Regions from separate parts of the Homo sapiens genome. Here region 1 is linked to region 2. The links are contacts of gene promoters, found by promoter capture Hi-C in blood cells and fetal thymus (Javierre and others, 2016). All regions are on one chromosome and are shown on one strand. The core of a region is centred on a gene start or on the middle of the fragment in contact, and the rest is flanking DNA. Distances in the headings are between cores, read along the strand shown. Region 1 has its middle 12 kb from the start of PSMG4. Region 2 holds the start of SERPINB1 (serpin family B member 1).

Region 1 (5,425 bases), core at 2,621-5,120, 400 kb before region 2:
GTGAGCAGTGCTGTAGGGCAGCATGGGACGGGGGGTAGAGTAGCCTAGTGGGGTAAGAGTCAGGTCATATATTTGAAGAGCCTCACAGAAATCCCAGCAAAGCCAAACATGGTGGCATCCACCTGTAGTCCCAGCTCCTCAGGAGGCTCAGGTGGGAGGATCGATTTAGCCCAGGAGTCAGAGGCTGCAGTGAGCTATGATCCCGCCACTGCACTCCAGCCTGGGCAACAGAGTGAGACCCTGTCTCTAAATAAATTAATTAAATAAAGTAAAAATAAAATACAAATCCCGAGGCAGCAGGTATAATGACTCACTTTTCTTTTTTTCTTTCTTTCTTTTCTTTTTTTTTTTTTTTGAGATGGAGTTTAGCTTTTGTTGCCCAGGCTGGATTGCAATGCTTGATGTCGGCTCACTGCAACCTCTGCTTCCTGGGTTCAAGCAATTCTTCTGCCTCAGCCTCCCTAGTAGCTGGGATTACAGCCATGCCTGGCTAATTTTGTACTTTTTGTAGAGACGGGGTTTTGCCATGTTGGCCAGGCTGGTCTCGAACTGCTGACCTCAGGTGATGCACCCGCCTCAGCCTCCCAAAGTGCTAGGATTGCAGGCGTGAGCCACCGCACCCAGCCATGACTCACTTTTCAAAAAAGGAACTGAACGCTGAATAAATGAAGAGCCCACAAGGCACTTAGTCGCTGAGGGTGGAGCTGAGGCTTGGATCCTGGACCACCTCCCTGCACCCCTTTCCAGGTGGAAGAGTGGGGATCCCAGGCAGGGATGGAGGGTGAGGATCCGTGAGGAGCTATGGGGTGCTGAACAGAGGACCTGAATTTAAGTGAACACGCAGGCTTCCAGGCAAGGTCAGGCACCGTGCACACAGTGGCGAGGAGTGTAGCCACCACCTCTCCGAAATCAGCTCCAAACAGGCCCTCCAGGTAGACAGCAGTCCTGGGGCCATGTCACCAAAGCCAGTGGGAACTGTTCCACCTGCTCACTCTGGGTTTCTTATCCCAGATCTCAAAATCTCCAGCACAACCCCAAAGGTCCAGTGTTTCCATTAAAATGTGGGTCTCAATGTGATTTTATTTTGTGACTGTTAATGCTTTTTAGCTAAACGAATTCACGCATATGGGAAGGGGGAATCCCTCCCCAGATGGTGTGTACCCTCGTTTGGGTTGGAAAATATGTGGTTGCACATATGTGTGATTGTGGAGGGGCTACCTGACAGCTTTGGAAGGCACGCATGATCAGTGGGGCACAGTGAGACTCCCCGAGGATAAGCAAAGACACAACTCTCCCGTCCCACGAAAGAGAATTTATATCCTGGGTCCAAATCATGCCTAGTGAAAGAGCACCTTGTCTTCCGGGTAAAGCTTCCCAAGTTTTATTAGAATCCTCAGCCTGACTTCAGAGCGTTGTGCCTAAGATACGCAATCATGGAGGCTGGCAGAACAAAAGGCTGTTTCTCTCCGTCTCTCTCCTGCTGAAACGGATCATGTGATACAGAAGCAGATTCATCTGCAAGGCCCTGCGTGGGTGGGAGGGGCAGGTGGGCTGCTCGGAGCTCGCCTTGGGGTTTTGCTGAGAACGTCAAAGCCCTTTTCCCGCACCGGTGGCCGGACTCTGCATGAGTCACCGCCTGCCTGCAAGCCCAGAGCTCGCCGCACCCCCCTGCCTCTCCGCACCGTCCCACAGGCTGTGACCCTCCACCCAGCCATAGACGGTTCTGCTCTTGGCACAAAGGAGGGCTTCTTAGCCGGGAATATGGCTGCCCGGGAGGGGCGACTTCTGTGCTTGTTTTTCCTTCCTGGCACTGAAAACAAGCACATCCACCCAACAAATAAAGACGCGGTCAATGAAAGCAGCTGTGTTTCAAGGGGAGACAGGGAGCAAGCCAAGGAATAAATGAAAAGACCCAGTGACAAAATGCCCATTCATCGGGTTCACTCGGCAAACATTTACTGAAGCATCTGTGTGCCAGGCACTGTCCTGAGTGCTGGGAAGACACAAAGATGCCCTTCAGAACGATGACCCCCGCCTCGCCCTCCGCTGGAACCGGGAGGCAGACACACACATAAATACGACACAGTCAACCGTCCCCAGTTCACAGCATCTAAAGGAGCTAGGAATGCATGGGATGCTTATGGAATGTGCGAGAACACGGGTGAGTCTCACAAAAAGAATGTACACGGAGTACATACTGTCGGATTCCATTTCTATCAACTCCTGAAGCCTGCAGAGCTAACACCTACTGCTGGAGGGCAAGGCAGTAGCTGCTTGTTGGGGTAGGAGATGAGGAGAACACCAAGTGGGCTTCTGGAATGCTGGACACCCGTGGTCAGTGCACCTTTTTTTTTTCCAAATTGAGACAGGGTCTCACTCTGTTGTCCAGGCTAGAGTGCAGTGGTGTGATCATAGCTCACTACAGCCTTGACCTCCTGGGCTCAAGTAATCCTCCCACCTCAGCCTCCCAAGTGGCTGCGACTACAAGTACATGCCACCACACCTGGCTAATTTTGTTTATTTTTTGTAGAGACAAAGTCTCACTGTGTTCCCAGGCTGATCCCCAACTCCTGAGCTCAAGCCAGCCACCAGCCTTGGCCTCCCAAAGTGCTGGGATTACAGGCGTGAGCCACCACGCCGGGCCCAGATGAACAGGTAAGAGACACAAGCAGCTCTGGGAACTGCAAGGTGATTAGAAGATGGGGGCAAGACTGAGCACAAAGGCGGGAGAGCACAGGATGGAGCAGGTTAGGAAGCTGGTACAGGAATCAGGACAGCGATGCCAAGGTAAGGAAGGCATCGGGGGTACAGGAAAAAGCAGAACTAAATTCAGCAAAATGCTCCCAGTTGACCAGATCCTATGGAAAAACCCTCAGCTGAACGCCTGGGGCACCCACTTACAAAGGCAATCTTATCTTATAAAGAGAGGGAATTCTCACACAGGTCACAGCATGGATGAACCTTGAGGACATTTGCTAAGTGAGAGACAAAAAAGGACAAATACTGTATGAGTCCACTCATAGGCGGTGGCTAGAGTAATTAAATTCACATAAAAAAACAGAAAGTAGAATGGGAGTGGCCAAGGGCTGCGGGAACAGCAAATTGGTGTTTAATGGGGACAGAGTTTTAGTTTGGGGAGATGAAAAGTTCTGGAATGGACGGTGGTGACAGTTGCACCCCCATGCTTCATGCCACTGAACTGTGCACTTAGAAATGGTTAACGTGGCAAATTTTATGCTATGTGGTTTTTATCACAATGAAAATTTTAAAATTTAAAAAGTTGGGGCTGGGCGCAGTGACTCAGGCCTGTAATCCCAGCACTTTGGGAGCCAGGGGCAGGCGGATCACTTGAGGCCAGGAGTTCGAGACCAGCCTGGCCAACATGGTGAAACCCTGTCCCTACTAAAAATACAAAATTTAGCTGGGCATGGTGGCGGATGCCTGTAATCCCAGCTACTTGGAAGGCTGAAGCAGGAGAATCGCTTGAACCCGGGAGGCGGAAGTTGCAGTGAGCCAAGATCACACCACTGCACTCCAGCCTGGGTGACAGAGCAAGACTCCGTCTCAAAAAAATAAATAAAAACATAAAAAATAAATAAATAAAAAGCAACCCTGGCCTGGAAGGTCTGTCATCTTAGGTATATTTTTAACCAAGAAGTCCCATCACCCTAATGAGATTCTGTATACTTTGCTGCCCAAACCATAACAGGTCCTCCTCCAATAACCCAAAATAATTCACAGATTGTTACCGACTCTACAAATATCTTATTTTATAATTTTTCAGTCTTATGAATCAATTTCATTTCCAAGAGCCCTGTTGGGTAAGTAGCCCAATTTCTGAACACTCCTCTCTTGAAGCTGTTGCTAAGAACCCACCATCCCCAGCTTCTCAGCATGGTAGGAACCATGACTTAGCCATTGCCTCCTCTATGCCTAGTACTATCCTAGGTCCTTCTTTAAACCATTTCTATCCCTCACAGTAACCCCATGAGGAAGATATTATTTCAAAGTCAGGCTGAGGAGGCCAAACATCAGACCAGTTGTGTAACTTGCCCCCGGGTCCATGCAGTGGGTTGAGAGTGAAACCAGGATTCCTGGCATAAAGTCTGCGCTTTTCCCACTCATTCCACGTAGCTCCTAGTGCTTTCTTCCATGGCGATGGCATTGAAGTGCAGATCCGTCTTCTCAGTCCTGACTCCTAGACTTTTCCCTCCAACCCCCAAGGTGATGGGATAAAGAGATAGGGCCTTTGGGAAGTTAGTGCTGTTATTAAAAAGGCCCCAGGCTGGGTGCAATAGCTCACGCCTATAATCCCAGCACTTTGGGAGGCTGAGACAGGTAGATCACCTGAGGTCAGGAGTTCGAGACGAGCCTGGACAACATGGTGAATCCCCGTCTCTACCAAAAATACAAAAATTAGCTGGGCATGGTAGCACACACCTATAGTCCCAGCTGCTTGGGAGGCTGAGGCAGGAGAATCTCTGGAACCCAGGAGGTGGAGGTTGCAGTGAGCCGAGGTTTCAGTGAGCCGAGATTGCGTCATTGCACTCCAGCCTAGGTGACAGAGCAAGACTCCATCTCCAAAAAAAAAAAAAAAAATTAAAAGGCGCCAGAGAGCTGCTTTCTCCTTCAGCCACATAAGGGCACAACAACAAGGTGCCACGAAGCAAAGAGCCCTCACCAGACATGGAATCTGCGGGCGCCTTCTCAGCCTCCAGAACTATCAGCAATAAATTTCTGTTGTTTATAAATTCCCCAGTCTAAGATACTTTGTTATAGCAACCTAAATGGACTGAGACTGACACCCATTGTGTAATATAACACTGATGATAACTGTTCCAATCACTGGGCACCTACCCTGTGTCAGGAACTGCATTTATGAGCTTTAGGTGTTGACAGTAACCATATCGGGAGGTATTAATATTCCTTGTTTCCGCCTTTTTTTTTAGTGTGCCATTTGATTCCAAATGCTATGCTCTTCCCACTTGGCTCTTCTGTTTTGTTTGTGCAATCTGGGTTCGTCTCGGAAGTGTGTATTTAAGGTTCTCTCCAGGTTAGAGAGAATGTGGCAGCATGCCTGATGATGTCACCCACTGCTTCTGTTATACCCTGCCCAGCTTACCCCTTCCCTCTGGGCCTTTTATAGGACCTTGTATTTAGTCCAACAACAACAATAGCACAACACCCATAAACAAAACACCTCTGCATATAATACAATGTACTTGCCTACTTGCTGACTGAAAGAGCTCCCACAGCCTCCCAGGTGCTGCCCTGCGCTTGGAGCAAAGCCTATCTGAGGCTGAAGAATGAGTAAGTCACCACCTGAATCCTGCCCTCCAGCCAGCTCTCTTCATCATGGAAATTCTTGGAGCAGAGTGGAAGGGAACCTGAGAGGAGAGATGGCACCTTCACTGATTCCTCCTTT
Region 2 (4,839 bases), core at 2,247-4,746:
AAATAATAAAATAAAATAAAATATATTAGTACCTAAAATAAAATATATTACCCAGCGAGCACAACATGGAAATAATTTACCCACAAGAATTATATTTAACATATTTACAAAACGCTATTGTGAGACTTTTAATTTCACCATGCTGCAAGTTTATTAAAAGTGTCACAATTCACTTAATAGCAGTTTCTTAAACTGAACAAGAAAACAAGCTAATTCAAAATGACTTGAAGAGTGAAGAAAAAAATTCTCAAGATGCTTCTGAGAGTTCTGGGTGATCAGTAGCAGCTCGTTTGAAGAGCCAGAAAAAGTCTAAGTTCTACTTTCAGGAGCTGGAGGCAGGAGGAATAATTCAGGAATAATTCAAGGTGGAGGAGAATAAGGAAAAACGCTTAGGAGACTGACACTTCTCCATATTATTGTTGGATGAGATGGGCTAGGAAGACTCGGGGGCAGTAATGTGGCCGTGTCCACACATTTCTCCTAGACAAGAGGGATAAGAACAAGGCCGGCTTCTCAAGAAGAGCCCCTGTCTTAGTCTTTTCCTGCTGCTTTATCAAAACATCTTGTAAACACTAGACACCTATTTCTTACAGTTCTGGAGGCTGGGAAGTCCAAGGCTGGGAAGTTCGAGATCTGCAGGTGCAGACTCAGTGTCTGATGAGGGCATTTTCTTGCGGTGTTCTCATTTGGTGGGAAAGGCAGAAGGGACAAATGCTGTGTCCTCACCTGACAGAACAGATGTTTTATGGGCTGAATGTGTCTCCCCAAAATTCATATGTTGAAACTTTATCACCAATGTGATAGTATTAAGAGGTAGAGCCTTAAGAAGTGCTTAAGTCATGAGGGCAGAACCGTCATGGGTGGGATTTGGGCCCTTGAGGGAGTGCGTTCATCCCTTTCCATCCCTCCCACCGCCACGTGAAGATACAGTATATTTCCCCCTTGGATGCAGCAACAAGGTGCCATTTTGGAAGCAGAGAGCAGCCCACACCAGGCACCAAATATGTGGATGCCTTATTCTTGGACTTCCCAGCCTCCAGAACTGTGAGCAATACATTTCTGTTTTTAATAAATTGCCCAATCACAGGTATTTATAGCAGCACAAATGGACTATGACAGAAATTGATACTGAGAATGGGATGTTGCTATAACTAATACCTAAATATGTGGAAACAGCTTTGAAACTGAGTAATGGGTAGAGGCTGGAAGAATTTGGAGATGCATGCTGGAAAAAGCCTGTATAGACATAAACAGAGCTTTAAGGGAAATTAAGGGTGAGGGCTCAGAAGACAAGGAGAGCTGTAGGGAGAGCCTAAATCATCTTAGAGATTAATTAAGTGGTCTGGTCTTGATCAGAATGCGGTTAGAAGTATAGATGGTAAAGACACTTTTGATGAGATCTTAAAAGGAAACTGGAGGAAAGGTCATCCTTGTTACACAGTGGCAATGAACTTGGCTGAATTGTGTCTATGTCCTAGTGTTTTCTGAATGGCAGAACTTAAAGGCAATAAACTAGGATATTTGATGGAAGAAATCTCTGAGCAAAGCGTTGAGAGTGCAGCATGGCTTCTCTTGACTGCTTGTAGTAAAATGTGAGCAGAGAGAATGAATTAAAAACGAAGTTTATAATCAAGAGGGAAGCAGAGCTTAAAGTTTTGGAAAATTCTCAGCCTGGCCATGTAAAGAATGAAAAGGCATGTTTGGGAGGGAACACCAAGAGTGCTGCCAGGTTCACATTTGATAATGAGATGAGTATGTGTAGAAGGAAGCCAGATGCTATTTATCAAGACAATGGAAGAATGAACCCAAAGGCATTTCTGAGGTTACTGGTTCTGGATTCTCATCCCTGTCCCAGAGTGCCAGGACCCTGAGGGCAGAATAGTTTTAAGGGAGGACTCAGGACACCATGGAACCTTGGGGCTTGCTGCCTAGGGCTGCCTCAAGTCTCTGCCCCCCCACCCCCCACATTCTGGTGCAGCACTCTTTGGCCACCATCCCACGTGTGGCTTATGCAGGCCCTTGTCAGGCCACCCTTCCTGTAAGCCTTGGCAGAGTCCACGTGATGCTAACTCTGCAGGTGCACAGAGTGCATGAACTGTGGAGACACAGCCACCTCCACCTAGATTTTGAAGGATGTGTTGGGGACCCTGGGGGCCCAGTCTGAGAATTGTCACTGAGGTGAGGCTGCTGCAGAAAACCCTCACTAGGGCAATGTTTAGTGGAGCAGTGGGATTGGGGCCACTGCAGAGAGCCCCAAATAGAGTAATATCTAGTGGAGCTGTGGGAACAGGGCTGTCCCTGAGAACCCAGAACTGTCCAGCCACCAGCATGCAAGTCTATCCTGGGAGAGCCTAGACCTCAACCTGTGAGAGCTGCTGCATGGGTTGCACCTGGCAAATCCATGGGAGTGGATCCCCTGGACACTAGGGGACCCAGTCTCCACCCCCCTGTGCTCGGAATGGGGGACACAGCATCAAAGAAGATTATTCTGAAGCCCCAAGATTTAATGCTGTTTGCCTTGTTGGGTTTGGACTTACTTGGGACCAGATACTCCTTTCTTCTTGCCTGCTTCTCCCTTTGGGAATGGGAATGTACGTCCTATGCCTGTCTCATCACTGTATTTTGAAGGCCTGTAACCTATTTGATTTCACGGGCTCATAGCTGGAGGGGAATTTCACTTAGGATGAATTGTACTTTGAATCTTATGCCTTTCTAATTTAGAAGATATTTAGGTGAGACTTTGGACTTACATTTTAAAGTTGATACTGGAACTTTGGAGGCCACTGGGATACAATGCATGCATTTTGCATGTGAGAGGGGTATGAATTTGGAGGGCAGGGGCAGAATGCTATGCTTTGAATGTCTGTGTTCCCTGCAAAATTCATGCTGAAACAATCCTCAATGCAATACTAACAGGTGGTGCCTTTAGGAGGTGACTGGATTATGAGGGCACCTTCCTCATGAATGGGATTGGCCCCTTATACGAGAGACTTCACATGAGATTTGGCCCCTTTTGCCCTTCCACTTTCCACCATTGAGGACGCAGCAGCAAGCTGTCATCTTGGAAACAGAGAGCAGGTGTTTGGAACTGGTTCTGTTTCATCTGATTCTGGGGGCCCCTCTTTTTCCCTGTGCAAGATCCCCAAATTTGCTTCCTTCTCTCAAAGAAAGCTCCCAATATAGATGGGACTCAAAGGGAGTCATTTGCCCTCTAAGAGGTGTCACAATATGTCGTCTCAGTCATTCACACCTTAGTAAGAAAAAGCTTTTCAGGTCCTTGCCAGAGATTCGGGGAAAGGCTTTGAACTGAGAAAGAAGCCGCGCCCCTGAGGAGGGCGCTGCCCGGAAGCCACGCTCACTTCTGCTTGCACTTAGGCGACCTCGGGAGCTCGGACTCCTACGCAGTCACCGGGAAGGGCCGCCGCCCCGCCCGCGGCTGCTGGCCCGGGTGACGCTTCCGCCTGCTATAAGAGCAGCGGCCCTCGGTGCCTCCTTCCTGACCTCGCACCCAGCTCGGAGCCCGGAGCGTGCCTCGGCGGCCTGTCGGGTAAGGCCGGGCCTCGGAGCGGTGGCGCGGGGGCGGGCGCGGGGAGAGGCCAGGCTCCCTCGCTCAGCTTCCAGCCCGGCACCCCCCACCCCCCAGGCTCAGGCCCCTCAGACCCGCAGCTCCCTGCGCTCGCCCTCCCCGCCAGCTTCGCGCCCCCATCCCTTCCGGGCGCCCCGACGGAGACAGACGACCTCTGATCCCCCGCCCCCGCCTGGGTACAGGCCGGGCCAGCCCGCGAGGGAGGGAGGGAGGGAGGACGACAGATGCAGGCGGAAGGCAAGACTGAAACCTGAGATCAGAATGTTGTCCCTTCTCCCTGAATTCCCTTCCTCCCAGAGCTGTTTGTGACGGTTTCCAGGCAGCCCAGGGCCAGGCCGCGGCTCCTATCTGCAGCTGCAGGGAGAGAGAGGAGGAACCCCGTGCGATTCTAGAGACGATTTCACAACAAGGAGAAATCAGCTTTGTGCTTACATGCCGAGCAGCCAGCACGGTTCTTCTTTGCCTGTCCTCGGGGGAAATCAGGGCTCTGAGAGTGGAGATCGAGATGGGCTAGTGGGTGGCGGATGGGACGCTGCACGGCCAGACCCTGGACTGTGGTGGGTTTCCAAACTGGCACATCCTACACCGGCTCTGAGACTGTGGGCACTGGACCTCATACCTTTTGAACCTCAAAAATAAGGAAGAATTATATTATTATAATAATTACAGTGATACCTTTGCTGGAGTTTTAATGCATAGTAGGTAGCTGAGTCTCTGATAGAAGGCTCTTAGTTCAGGTGAAGGTAGGCAATGGATTCATTGCCCAATGAATCAGAGACTTGAATCAAAGGCTCAGAAGCACGTGCGCTCCCACACATAGGTTGGGAAGACCCAGGGCTGGGTGGGCCCTCCCACCCCACTAAAGCTGGGGTAGCTGGGGCCTGCCTTACCCCCGCCCCACCCCCAGACTCACCTGTCTGCAAGGTCAGAGCCCTTTAGGGCACCCTGGGTGCCCTAAAATCCCCTATAACTGCTGAGTCCTTGGCCAGAATGGTCCCACATTTGTGGGCCTGGGAAAGTGTTCTTGCCCTGCTGGAATAAAAAAGCGGGGAGAAAGTACAAGATCCAGGATGCCTCAGGGCGGTTGGCAGAAATTGAGGAAGCTTCTGGAGAAATAGTGCTGCCTAATCTGCTGGCGTGGGCAGTGGGCACCATGAGGACCCTGTTCTGTGTTGCAGTTTTCACCATGGAGCAGCTGAGCTCAGCAAACACCCGCTTCGCCTTGGACCTGTTCCTGGCGTTGAGTGAGAACA

The links. Contacts are between HindIII fragments. The CHiCAGO score rates a contact against its expected background, and 5 or more counts as called.
Region 1: a fragment that was not itself captured here is called in contact with the fragment with the promoter of SERPINB1 in region 2 in 1 of 17 cell types (activated CD4 T cells); the score reaches 5.6 in activated CD4 T cells.

The regions. Positions count from the first base shown.
Region 1 is chr6:3,244,055-3,249,479 of GRCh38, reverse strand. No RefSeq gene overlaps it. Among named protein-coding and RNA genes, the nearest start is that of PSMG4, 12 kb to the left of the region's middle. RefSeq lists an enhancer at 1,820-2,385. The HindIII fragment of the contact is 4,996 bases long and covers 1,373-5,425 here.
Region 2 is chr6:2,840,520-2,845,358 of GRCh38, reverse strand. SERPINB1 (serpin family B member 1) reads left to right here and starts at 3,496. Exons shown (of 7, transcript NM_030666.4): 1 at 3,496-3,547; 2 at 4,765-4,839. The coding sequence starts at 4,773. RefSeq lists a silencer at 3,552-3,601. The HindIII fragment of the contact is 1,424 bases long and covers 3,268-4,691 here.